2 separate regions of the Homo sapiens genome follow, and region 2 is linked to region 1. Evidence: promoter capture Hi-C in human tissues and cell types (Jung and others, 2019). All regions are on one chromosome and are shown on one strand. The core of a region is centred on a gene start or on the middle of the fragment in contact, and the rest is flanking DNA. Distances in the headings are between cores, read along the strand shown.

The links. Contacts are between HindIII fragments. The study calls those that stand out against the background at their distance.
Region 2: a fragment that was not itself captured here is called in contact with the fragment with the promoter of DOK2 in region 1 in 1 of the 25 tissues and cell types used here (dorsolateral prefrontal cortex).

Annotation. Positions count from the first base shown.
Region 1 is chr8:21,911,124-21,916,095 of GRCh38, forward strand. DOK2 (docking protein 2) reads right to left here and starts at 2,567. Exons shown (of 5, transcript NM_003974.4): 1 at 2,416-2,567; 2 at 1,106-1,387; 3 at 778-865. The coding sequence starts at 2,478. RefSeq lists an enhancer at 485-584. The HindIII fragment of the contact is 2,220 bases long and covers 1,426-3,645 here.
Region 2 is chr8:21,231,675-21,236,646 of GRCh38, forward strand. No RefSeq gene overlaps it. Among named protein-coding and RNA genes, the nearest start is that of LINC03093, 64 kb to the right of the region's middle. The HindIII fragment of the contact is 3,534 bases long and covers 358-3,891 here.

The DNA of each region.
Region 1 (4,972 bases), core at 1,317-3,816:
CCCTGTCGCCAGAGCCACAGTCTTGTCTTCCCCACCCCATCTCTCACCCCAAACCAGCCACCACCCTAGTCCCTACGGTCACAGCTGCAGGTGAAGCCTTGGCCCTGCCCTCCCACTGCCGGGGCCCTGGGGGTGAAGCTTAGATGGAAGGCAGATGAAAGTTTCTCCTCCCTCCACCAGCTCCTCAAAAGCAACACCTGGGGCCAGGCGCAGTGGCTCATGCCTGTAATCCCAACACTTTGGGAGGCTGAGGCAGGTGGATCACCTGATGTCAGGAGTTTGAGACCAGCCTGGCCAACATGGTGAAACCCCGACTCTACTAAAAATACAAAAAATTAGCCAGGCGTGGTGGCCGACGCCTGTAATCCCAGCTGCTCAGGAGGCTGAGGCAGGAGAATCGCTTGAACCCGGGAAGCGGCGGTTGCAGTGAGCCGAGATTGTGCCATTGCACTCCAGCCTGAGCGACAAGAGCAAAACTCCGTCTCAAAAATAGAAAAAAGCAGCACCCTCACCTGGGCCCCCAGCCTTCCCCTCTCCCACCAGCAGGCCCTAGGTAAGATGAGGTGAACCAAGGGAGAGACTCAAGGCAGGGTAGGCTCCCTACGTTGGGCTGCACCCGGAAGCGAGAAGGAGAGGCTGATAACGGGGCTGGCCCAGGCTGGGGATAACCACAAGGCAGGAAGACTCGGGGCCAGCAGCTAGCCAGCCCACACCTCCTCTCCACCTCACCCTGGGGAGAGCCCCCAGGGGAGAGCAGGGCAGCCCCCGCCCCCTCACCTGTGACTGCGCTGCTGTACAATTCATTTTCCTCCATGCAGGGCCGGCTCTGCTTTCCCTCTGGCCCCGAGAGCTCCTTCCTCTGCCCCTAGGGAGGAGGCGCCCCGTCTCATCACCTTCCCCGATCCCCAGGCCCCCCTCTGGCCCAGGCCTTCTTTCAGGCCACCTCAACCTGCTGGCTCTGTCTGCACACTGGGTTCGGGTCCCCCCACATGGAGGAAGCACCCCATCACCCTGACCTTGACACCTGTAACACTTGCCCACAGGAAGTATCTAACACCCTCGGCCTGCACGCCCCCTTGCCCTTTCCGCACCCCGCGCGACTCACGGGGAAGGCCAGGAGGCAGATGGCCTGCACCCAGTCGCCGCGCTCCGCTGCAGGGGCCGCCAGGAGGTACAGGCGCTCCTTGGTCTCCAGGAAGAAGGCACTGGTGTCCCGGGGGCTGCTGGCCTCTCCGCCGGCCTCGGCCACCCGCAGGCAGTCACTGAGGCGGATGACCTTCCGGGCAGCCTCACACCGACGAGGCTTCTCCGGGCCCTCCTGCAGCTCCAGCCGGGCCAAGGCGCAGTCCGACCCTCCATACAGTGAGGCGCCGAAGCGGCGCCATTTCTGTGCCAGAGGCGTGGGAGGCGGGGGCGGGAGGGAGCCACCCAGAGACGGGGAGATCGTGAGCCAAGGGGAGAAGAGGAACCGTGGGAGGGGGACTGGGGCAGCCACTTGGAGATGGGGAGAGAGAGGTGAAGATCACATGAGACCCAGGGAGGCAGAGAAGAGGACAGTGACTGCAGGAATTAGAAAATCGGAGATCAGCCGCCAGCCCCGAGAAGGAGGCCCACGAGCAAGAGCAGAGACTGCCCAGGCAGAAAGCAACGCCGGGATGAGCCCAAAGCAGGCTGCAAGAAGGCCAAACAGGCCCACCGCAGTGGACTCCAGTCTGGGGAGGAAAGCGGGGCAGTGGCCGAGGCCCAGAGGAGGGAGTGAGGAGGGCGGCGTGTGACCCGGGCTGGAGACCTCATTCTCCTTCTGTGCGAAATCCTGAAGGAGAACTTCTCTCCACCCTCCTGAACCTTGCTGCCTCATTCCTTGATAGGTTGGGCCATGAGAGAGAGACAGGTGTGCCCCCCAGTGTTGGTTAGGGGACGAGGACTTCCTGGTTCAAGGAGGCCAGGGAAGGGGAAAGAGGATGGACAGCCGGCTGGGGTCCAGGCCCCCAGAGGCCCCAGCCCAAGCTGAACACCAGCCACATGCACCCCACTGGGGTTGGGAAGGAACCTCTATTGTCATCCTAAACTGTCCCTCCAGCTGCCCCTTCCATTCCCTTCCAAGGTGTCCGGTGAAAAGAAGTCAACATAGAGCAAGAGAGCAAAAGAGGCAAGAGATGAAAGCAGCACATCCCCCACCCCCACCCAGGGCAAACAGCCCTCAGTAAGGAGCACAGTTTGGGACCTGGTTGGGGCCTGGTTCAGGAGACAGCGTCGGGTAGGAAAAGAGCCCTCCCAAAGTTGAGCTCTGGGTCTAACTTGGTGGGTGCACAGTCAGACCTATAAGGGTTTTGAATATGAAACTCCCTCTCCAACCCAGGAATTCTAGCAGCCTCCCAGGCCCCCTGCCCAACCCCAGCCCAGCCTCACTCCTACCTTTCCAAACGTCTGCTGCTGCTGAAGATACAAGAAGCCTTGTTTCACTGCCCCGTCTCCCATCCTCTGACCATCTCGGAGCCCCAGGCTTCAGCTCTCTCCTTCACTCCTGCCCTTGCCTCTCTCTTCTTAGCCGTGTGTTTCCCTTCTCTGAAGTTCATTTCCTCTCTGCCTAGGGTTTTCTATACTATTCTAGTCTGCTCGATGACGACAGGCTGATAGGCCCTGCGGTTTCTTCTGAGTGTGTGTTCTTTTTTTTCTTTTTTTTTTTTTTTTCTGAGTGAGTTTTATACTCAAGCTTCCTGCATTTCCAGTGAGTTAGAGACAATTTCCAAAAAGCTAAATGCCAGCTCTTCAGTGAGCAACAATTCAGGTACAGAAGTTGGCACAGGGAGGCGCCAGCAAAGAGTGGCTGGCCCACTGGAACAGAGACCCAGAAACCAAACTAGACAGTGAAATCAGTAGTGAAGGCCCCCCCCTCCAAGCTGTACGCAAGTTGGAAGGGACAAACCACTAAGTTACAAATAAGGAAACAGGCTTGGAAAGTCTGAGGGATTTATTCAAGGTCACCAAACCAGAACCCAGGTCTCTCAACGCTTAACAGCTGAATGACACACACGGCACTGCACAGAGAGACACATAAGACAGCTCATGTGGGCCTAACCAGATACCAGTTTCACAAACACACACACACAGAGAGAGAGAGAGAGAGAGAGGCAACCGTTTAACTACATGCGAGCACTCCCTGTCTGCCAACAACACACACTCACACCAACCCTGTAAAGATTCTAGAAAGATGATCATCCCCTCTGGAGAAGGGACTGACTCCCCAAGTACATCTCAACTGTTGGATTTTTGCCTTCTTGCAAGCATTCCTGAGCATTAGAAAGATGCTTAGGTTTCATCTGCAAATTATCTTAAGTTTCAATAGCAATCACTTTCATATACATTTTGAAAATGGTTCAGAGTTACCGAAAGTGCTTCGTAGCTCGCAAAGCTTCTAGGCACACACTTTTCATCAGCCACGCCATCCTTTGACAAAGGCAGGGCAGGTATGAACACACTTATTTGCAACTTGCCTGAGGTCACAGAGGTAGTTGGGGGCAGAGGAAGAAGTAGAGACCAGGGCTCCTGATCTTTAATTCAACATTTTGCAGGGCCCCTAAATGGAATCCAGATCCATGCAAAAAGATCCATTGCTGTGGGGAAATCCAAGCTGCTCAGAGAAGTTTAACTTAAAGCCAGATGGTTTAGAGAAGCAATCTGTATGGAGGCACAGTGCAGAAGGGTTGGAAAAAACTGAGACTCAGACCAACACTCTTGGGGTTAATCCCATAACAGGTGCTTATATAAACAGGCCCATTTCCTCTACAACAGGGGTTCAGTTACCGTGGCAAGGAGCGAGCAGCACCGTGCACAGCTTAGGCCTTCTGCTGTACATGCCATGGACTGGACCAAATAAGCTTGAAAAAAATGAATGTCATGAGCTCTGTGAGGACAAGGATGAGTCACTTCAAACTCACTGCCCTCAGCCGTGATGCCTGGGTTTGAAGAGGTTGATCCAAAGCTCAAGGGAGAACCAAGCATACTGTTTTGGGAAAAGCACACCTTGGGAAGTGGTTAGGGGTATGGAAATGGGATGTGACCTAATCTTCCTCTTTAGTCCCTAAGGAGAGTCAACTCTGCCTGGGAGCTGCATGGTCTTTGGTGCAGGGAGTGAGAAGAGGAGGGCTTTATGGCCATCTTAGGGGCTGCCAGAGCAGTGCCTTCCAAACTGTAACATGTAGATCTTGTTCAAAGTAGACTCCAATAAAGTAGGTCTGGAATGAGCCCTGAGATGCTGCCGGTGGTGGGTGGGTCAAAGCACACTGAGTAGCAAGGTGACAGAGGATGTCCCCTGCTAACCTGATCGCCTTCCCTGAAGGCAAAATGGACACATTCCACTCAGAACCACAGGGGGGCACCCAAGTTTACCAGATTACTTGAAAGTTGTTTAAACCCGGAGGCCTGAACCCCAGGCAATCCAGACACTCCCTTGTCATCCCTTGCTTATGGAAGCTGGAGGAGTTCTCCGGTAGCCGTTGACTGCAGAAGATAGGGCAGCAGAGTATATACCAAGAGCAACACCCTTGCAGTCCTTCTAGGCCCCTTCAACTGTCCCTAGCAGGATTTGTGGCGACCCTGATGTAGAAGCACTAACCCCAGTACCTTCTGCCTAGCCATGGGGAAACCCTGTAAACAGGAGCCCAGAGACATTGCTCCAAGACACAGCAGAAGCGCACAGAATGAGAAGCCCTTAGGGTCCACAGGCACCAATGATGTGTAGAAAAAGCACTGTAAAGGAGTTGAGGGTGCCTCTTGGCTTGTCTTTGTTTTTACGGGAAAGGAAAAGGCACTCCAAACCCCACCTGTGGCTCATTCTAAGCCACTGGGATCCTGTCCCTTACAACAGTTTCTCTCAGCAGGAGTCAGGAACCACAGCTCCAAGAAATTTTCATTACTATTCTGCTGCAGTGATTAGCAACCCAATCCTAACATAAGAGGGCTGGGACCTTGT
Region 2 (4,972 bases), core at 875-3,374, 680 kb before region 1:
GGGGAGTGAAATGACTCCTGGAGTTGCATAAATTCAAATTTACACTTCTGTAAGAGACACAGGTAGGGGTGGGACTTTCTCTCTGCAATCACAGCGCTCATGAGGCTTCGGGTCCAGCAGACACTTGGGCATTGATACTTGATGAATAATGAGAAGATGAATGAGTGGATAAATAAGCAAACATCTCAAAGCCATCTAACAGCCCCAAATCTGGATTCACACAGCAGGAGAGACAGGCACAAGTCAAGACCATTTTAAGAAGTCAAGGTTACCAGCCTGGCCAACATGATGAAACCCTGTGTCTCCTAAAAATACAAAAATTAGCCAGGTGTGGTGGTGGGAGCATGTAATTCCAGCTACTTGGGAGGCTAAGGCAGGACAATCACCTGAACCTGGGAGGCAGACGTTGCAGTGAGCTGAGATCACGCGACTGTACTCCAGCCTGGGCAAAAAGAGCAAGACTCCATCTCAACAAAAACAAACAAACAAACAAAAAAAGTAAAATTCTGTTCTGATTATTTGCTGACCTGTCAAACACCTGAGAGGTTATATTTGTTTCACAGATTGGAAAACTCAAGTTCAGAGAGGCAAAGTGAAAGGCCCAGTTTAACCTTGAGTGAGTAGGTATATTTAGATACAACCGCCACCTCCAAGTGGAAGCAAGGTGTGGGGCACCAACCCATGCAGTCTCACCTTGAGGTCTCCCTGAAGATTCCTGAACTCTGGATAAATAAGTAGAGTTTAGAGTTTCTATATCCCTGAGGAGGATGAGAATTGCCCAAAAAAAAATCTGCAGACCTCTAAACATATCAAATTAAAAGCTACCAACAGGGGCTGGGTTGAGAAGTGAAGGTGAAAAAAAATCCCAACTCAGAGTGTGTGTAAAATATTTTCCCTGGAGGACTTAGTACAGAAATAGTTTTAATTAACTGTGCATTTCATTTAAGCTTAGCAGGCAAGTTATTGTACATTAAATAAATACCAGTTGGTTATTAAGAATGTATTTACTTCTGACTTAACAACTACAACAGGTTATAGATACAGATTTCTGTAAAAGCACAGTCTGGTACATTTGTTTGGAATAATCAATTGTTCTTTACTCAGGATATAATAATTGCCTTATTGAATCTGGAGAGGCTCTTCTCTTGGCAATTCACAGCAAAAAAAATCTCATTTAGTGATTCTGTTCTTTTCTCCCAAAGAAGAAGAAGGAGCAAGGAAGACAGAGATTTTAGAACCCAGGTCTCTGACTTAAGGGGCAAGTTGGCCCAGTGCAGATTTACCGCAGCCTCCGCATCTGGGAGATGTGGACATTGGACCAGGCAGAGAAGCCCAGGTAACTGAGTCTAAATAACAAACAATTGTTTAGTATAAGTATGTCCCATACAATGTTTGGGACATACTTATAACAGTTATTCATGACCTATCTGAAATTCAAATTTTACTGAGCATCCTAGATTTTTGTTTGCTCAGTCTGTCAACCCTATTCTTGATGAGCCACAAAGGTATTGAGTGATATGTAGAAGGGTGGTATATGGACACCACCCTCAACCCTAGCTCAGTTCTCCATCTACAAGATGCCTTGAAGTGAGTGAAATGAGCTGGACAGACACCAACTTTTATGCCCAGATGCAGGGGGAGTCCCCCAGATCCTCTAAACAGATACCCCACTCAGCAGTAGCCCTTACCTTGTGTTCTCCTGCTCAATCTCCTCTGTGGGTCACAGATCACATGGTCATTGATATGGTTTGGATGTGTTCCCACCCAAATCTCATGTTCAATTATAATCCTCAATATTGGAGGTGGGCTTAGTGGGAGGTGATTGGATCATGTGGATGGATCCTTCGTGAATGGCTTAGCACCATCCCCTTGGTGCTGGTCTCTTGAAATCTGGTTGTTTAAAAGTGCGTAGCACCTACCCCAACTCTTCCTCCTACACTGGCCATGGAAGATATGCTTGCTTCTCCTTGCCTTCTGCCATGATTGTAAGTTTCCTGAGGCCTCCCCAGAAGCCAAGCCGAAGCCTCTATGCTTGCGTACAGCCTGCAGAACCGTGAGCTGTTCCTTATAAATTATCCAGTGTCGAGTATTTCTTTATAGCAATGCAAAAATGGACTAATACAGTCATACAGTCATGAGGTTGTCCTCTGGCTAATAAATGAAGAAAGTGAGGGCCAGGAAGCCAAGCGACCTGAGAAAGATTACACAGCCAATTGCTGGAAGAGCTTGGTTTTATGATCATCATTCATCATCGTCATCATCGTCATCATCATTTATGATGATCCACTAGTACTAGTATCAGGAAGTGTTAATCTCATGTCAGGCCCTTTGCTTAGGAAACCATCACTGTAACCCTATGAGAACGATATTGTATTGTTTCTATTTTTTTAATAGCTGAAATCAAAGTCTCAACTCAGAATCCACAAATTCTCCCCATGACACCACGTTACTCTTTCCTCTTCAACTTGTTTTCTCTCTTTCTTCACTTCTTCTATCCTCATCTATAAAAAAGTCTACAGTATCCAACATCTACTAAAAGCCCAACGCTGAGCCAGGTACTCTGGTGAACTGATAAAAAAAAAATGCAAAATGAAAAAGATTTAGAGGCAGCATTGCAGAGTGGCTAACAGCACAGAGCATGGAGCCCAATTGCCTGGATTTTGAATCTTAACATCTGCACTCACAAACTGGTGAACCCAGACAAATTATGTAACCTTTTGGTGCCTTCCTTTTCTAATTATAAAATGATATGATACGATAATAGTGCTTAGAGTAGTGCCTGGCACATGGTAAGCACTGTATAAATATTTACCATGGCTGCTAGCATAACAAAGTGCCTGAAATCTGAGAACTGAACAATTAGCAGAGCTCAGCAGAGGCTGCAGAGCACAGAGCTAGATCCTGCTTTGTGGCTGGTAACTGCCTTCCTTTCCTTTGCTATCTTGAAGCCATTGGGGAAATAGCCCAGGTCAGCAAAACATGCTCTCAAACACTATGTATTCAACCTCAAATCCCATGTTAACCATAACATAAGGCCAATAAACATGATAATCCAGTTCTAGGATTTTTAGAAGAGTTTCACTTTCAAATATTCTTTTACACTATGATCAGAAATCATGTCGAAGTATTCAAATTTCCATCATTTATGAACCCATAATACTTCAGCCTGTCTTCTCCGATCATAAGCAGCACATCAAACTGCTGTGAGACAGGACTCCCACTACCCAACTACCAAAAAGTTAGAAACATGATGACCACACAGGTAGCCATACTGTTATACATAGATATATCAGATCATATTAAGACAGAAATTTACGTTAGGTCTGATATTAAATTGCAGTTACTGAAATAAATAGCCTGGTATTTATTATATCAGATATGATTCCAAAATGATTGAAAGAGAGCTTCCAAAAATACAGAAAGTACAGGATGTATATAATTGGCCATCACAAAAGTAATGTGAATTTCTAAAAATTTAATTAAAAATAAGTGGAAGACCTTAAGACCAGTCATCAGACCTTAAGACCAAAAATTAAAGTAAAATAAAACTATTAAGTAAGTAATAAGCCATCAAAAGTTTCCATGACCAGATGCCTTCAGCAGTAAATTCTACTAGTCCTTTAAGGATGAGATAATTTCCATATTATAAACATTGATCCAGAGCATCGGTAAAGATGAAAAGCTAACTGAGTCATTTTATAAAGTTGGCATAAGTCTTGTACCAAAAATGAAAAAGATGAACAAAAATAGTAAACTGTAAACTAATTTCACTTACGAATATAGATGCTAAGTCTCTAAGGAAAATAATAGCATATGGAATTCAATAGTACATTAAAAGAATGATCAACTGTTACCAAGAATGACTCATCCTAGGAAGGACAGGACATGATATTATTAGGAAGTCTATTAATACAAAATACCACATCAATTAGAAAAACTTAAAATAATCTCAATGGTGGCCACCAAAGTTATTCAATAACATTTTTTTGGTAAAACCATTTGGAAAAATAACAATGAAAGAGAACTTGCTAATAAAGACTATCAAGTTTAAACTACCTACCTATATTATACCTGCTCACTGTGAGCCTAACAGTTATCTACTGCCTCAATAATGCTGTGTAACAAGTCACTCCAAAGCTCAGTGGCTTAAATCAACCATAATTGGTTTAGCTTATGAGTCTGAAGGCCAGCTGAGTGGCTCTTCTAGCCTTCACTGAGCTCATGCTCATGAAGAAGGGTGACTGGTTTGGGGATTATGTCACTGGGTTTCAACTTGGTTGACTAGCATAACTCAACTCTGCCCCAAGTATCTCATCTTCCAACAGGGTGCCACAGGCATGTCTTTCTCATGGACATAGAAGAGTACACTGGCGAGCAAGACCACTTTTAAAGCCACTCTGTGCTTTATGTTTGCTACTATCCCACTGGCCAAATGACAAGGCCAAGCTCAGAGTCAGAGCAGAAGAGCATTCCACAGTTACACAGCAAAGGGTGTAGTTCCAGGGAGGAATGGAGACTGAAGCCATTTTTCAGTCCATGACATTAGACTCAGGGCAACTGTATCAGCTCTACTGCACAATAATAGATTTTACATTAAAATTTTATTTTTTACATAAGTAAATAGTCTATGATCAAATAAGTTTGGTAGGTGCTAGGTGTAATAATAAATAATGTTAAACAGGTTTGTTTTCAATAGGACTTCTCAAGTTTTTATGTGTCATGAAGATTTCCATGTGAAGATTATAGTCTTTCTCAAACCAGTTTGAACACAGAACCCCTTTGTTTTTTACAGAACATCTGGAAGGCTGAATGCTTATCGGACACACTTTGGGAAAAGTAAAGGATATAAATTTTTTTTGAATGGCATTCACAATAGCTGAAAAGAAAAGGAGAAAAATGCCATTATATACTCAGAATTAATCTTGATAATAAATAAGCAGGATTTACATAAGGAAAAAAACAAAACTTCATT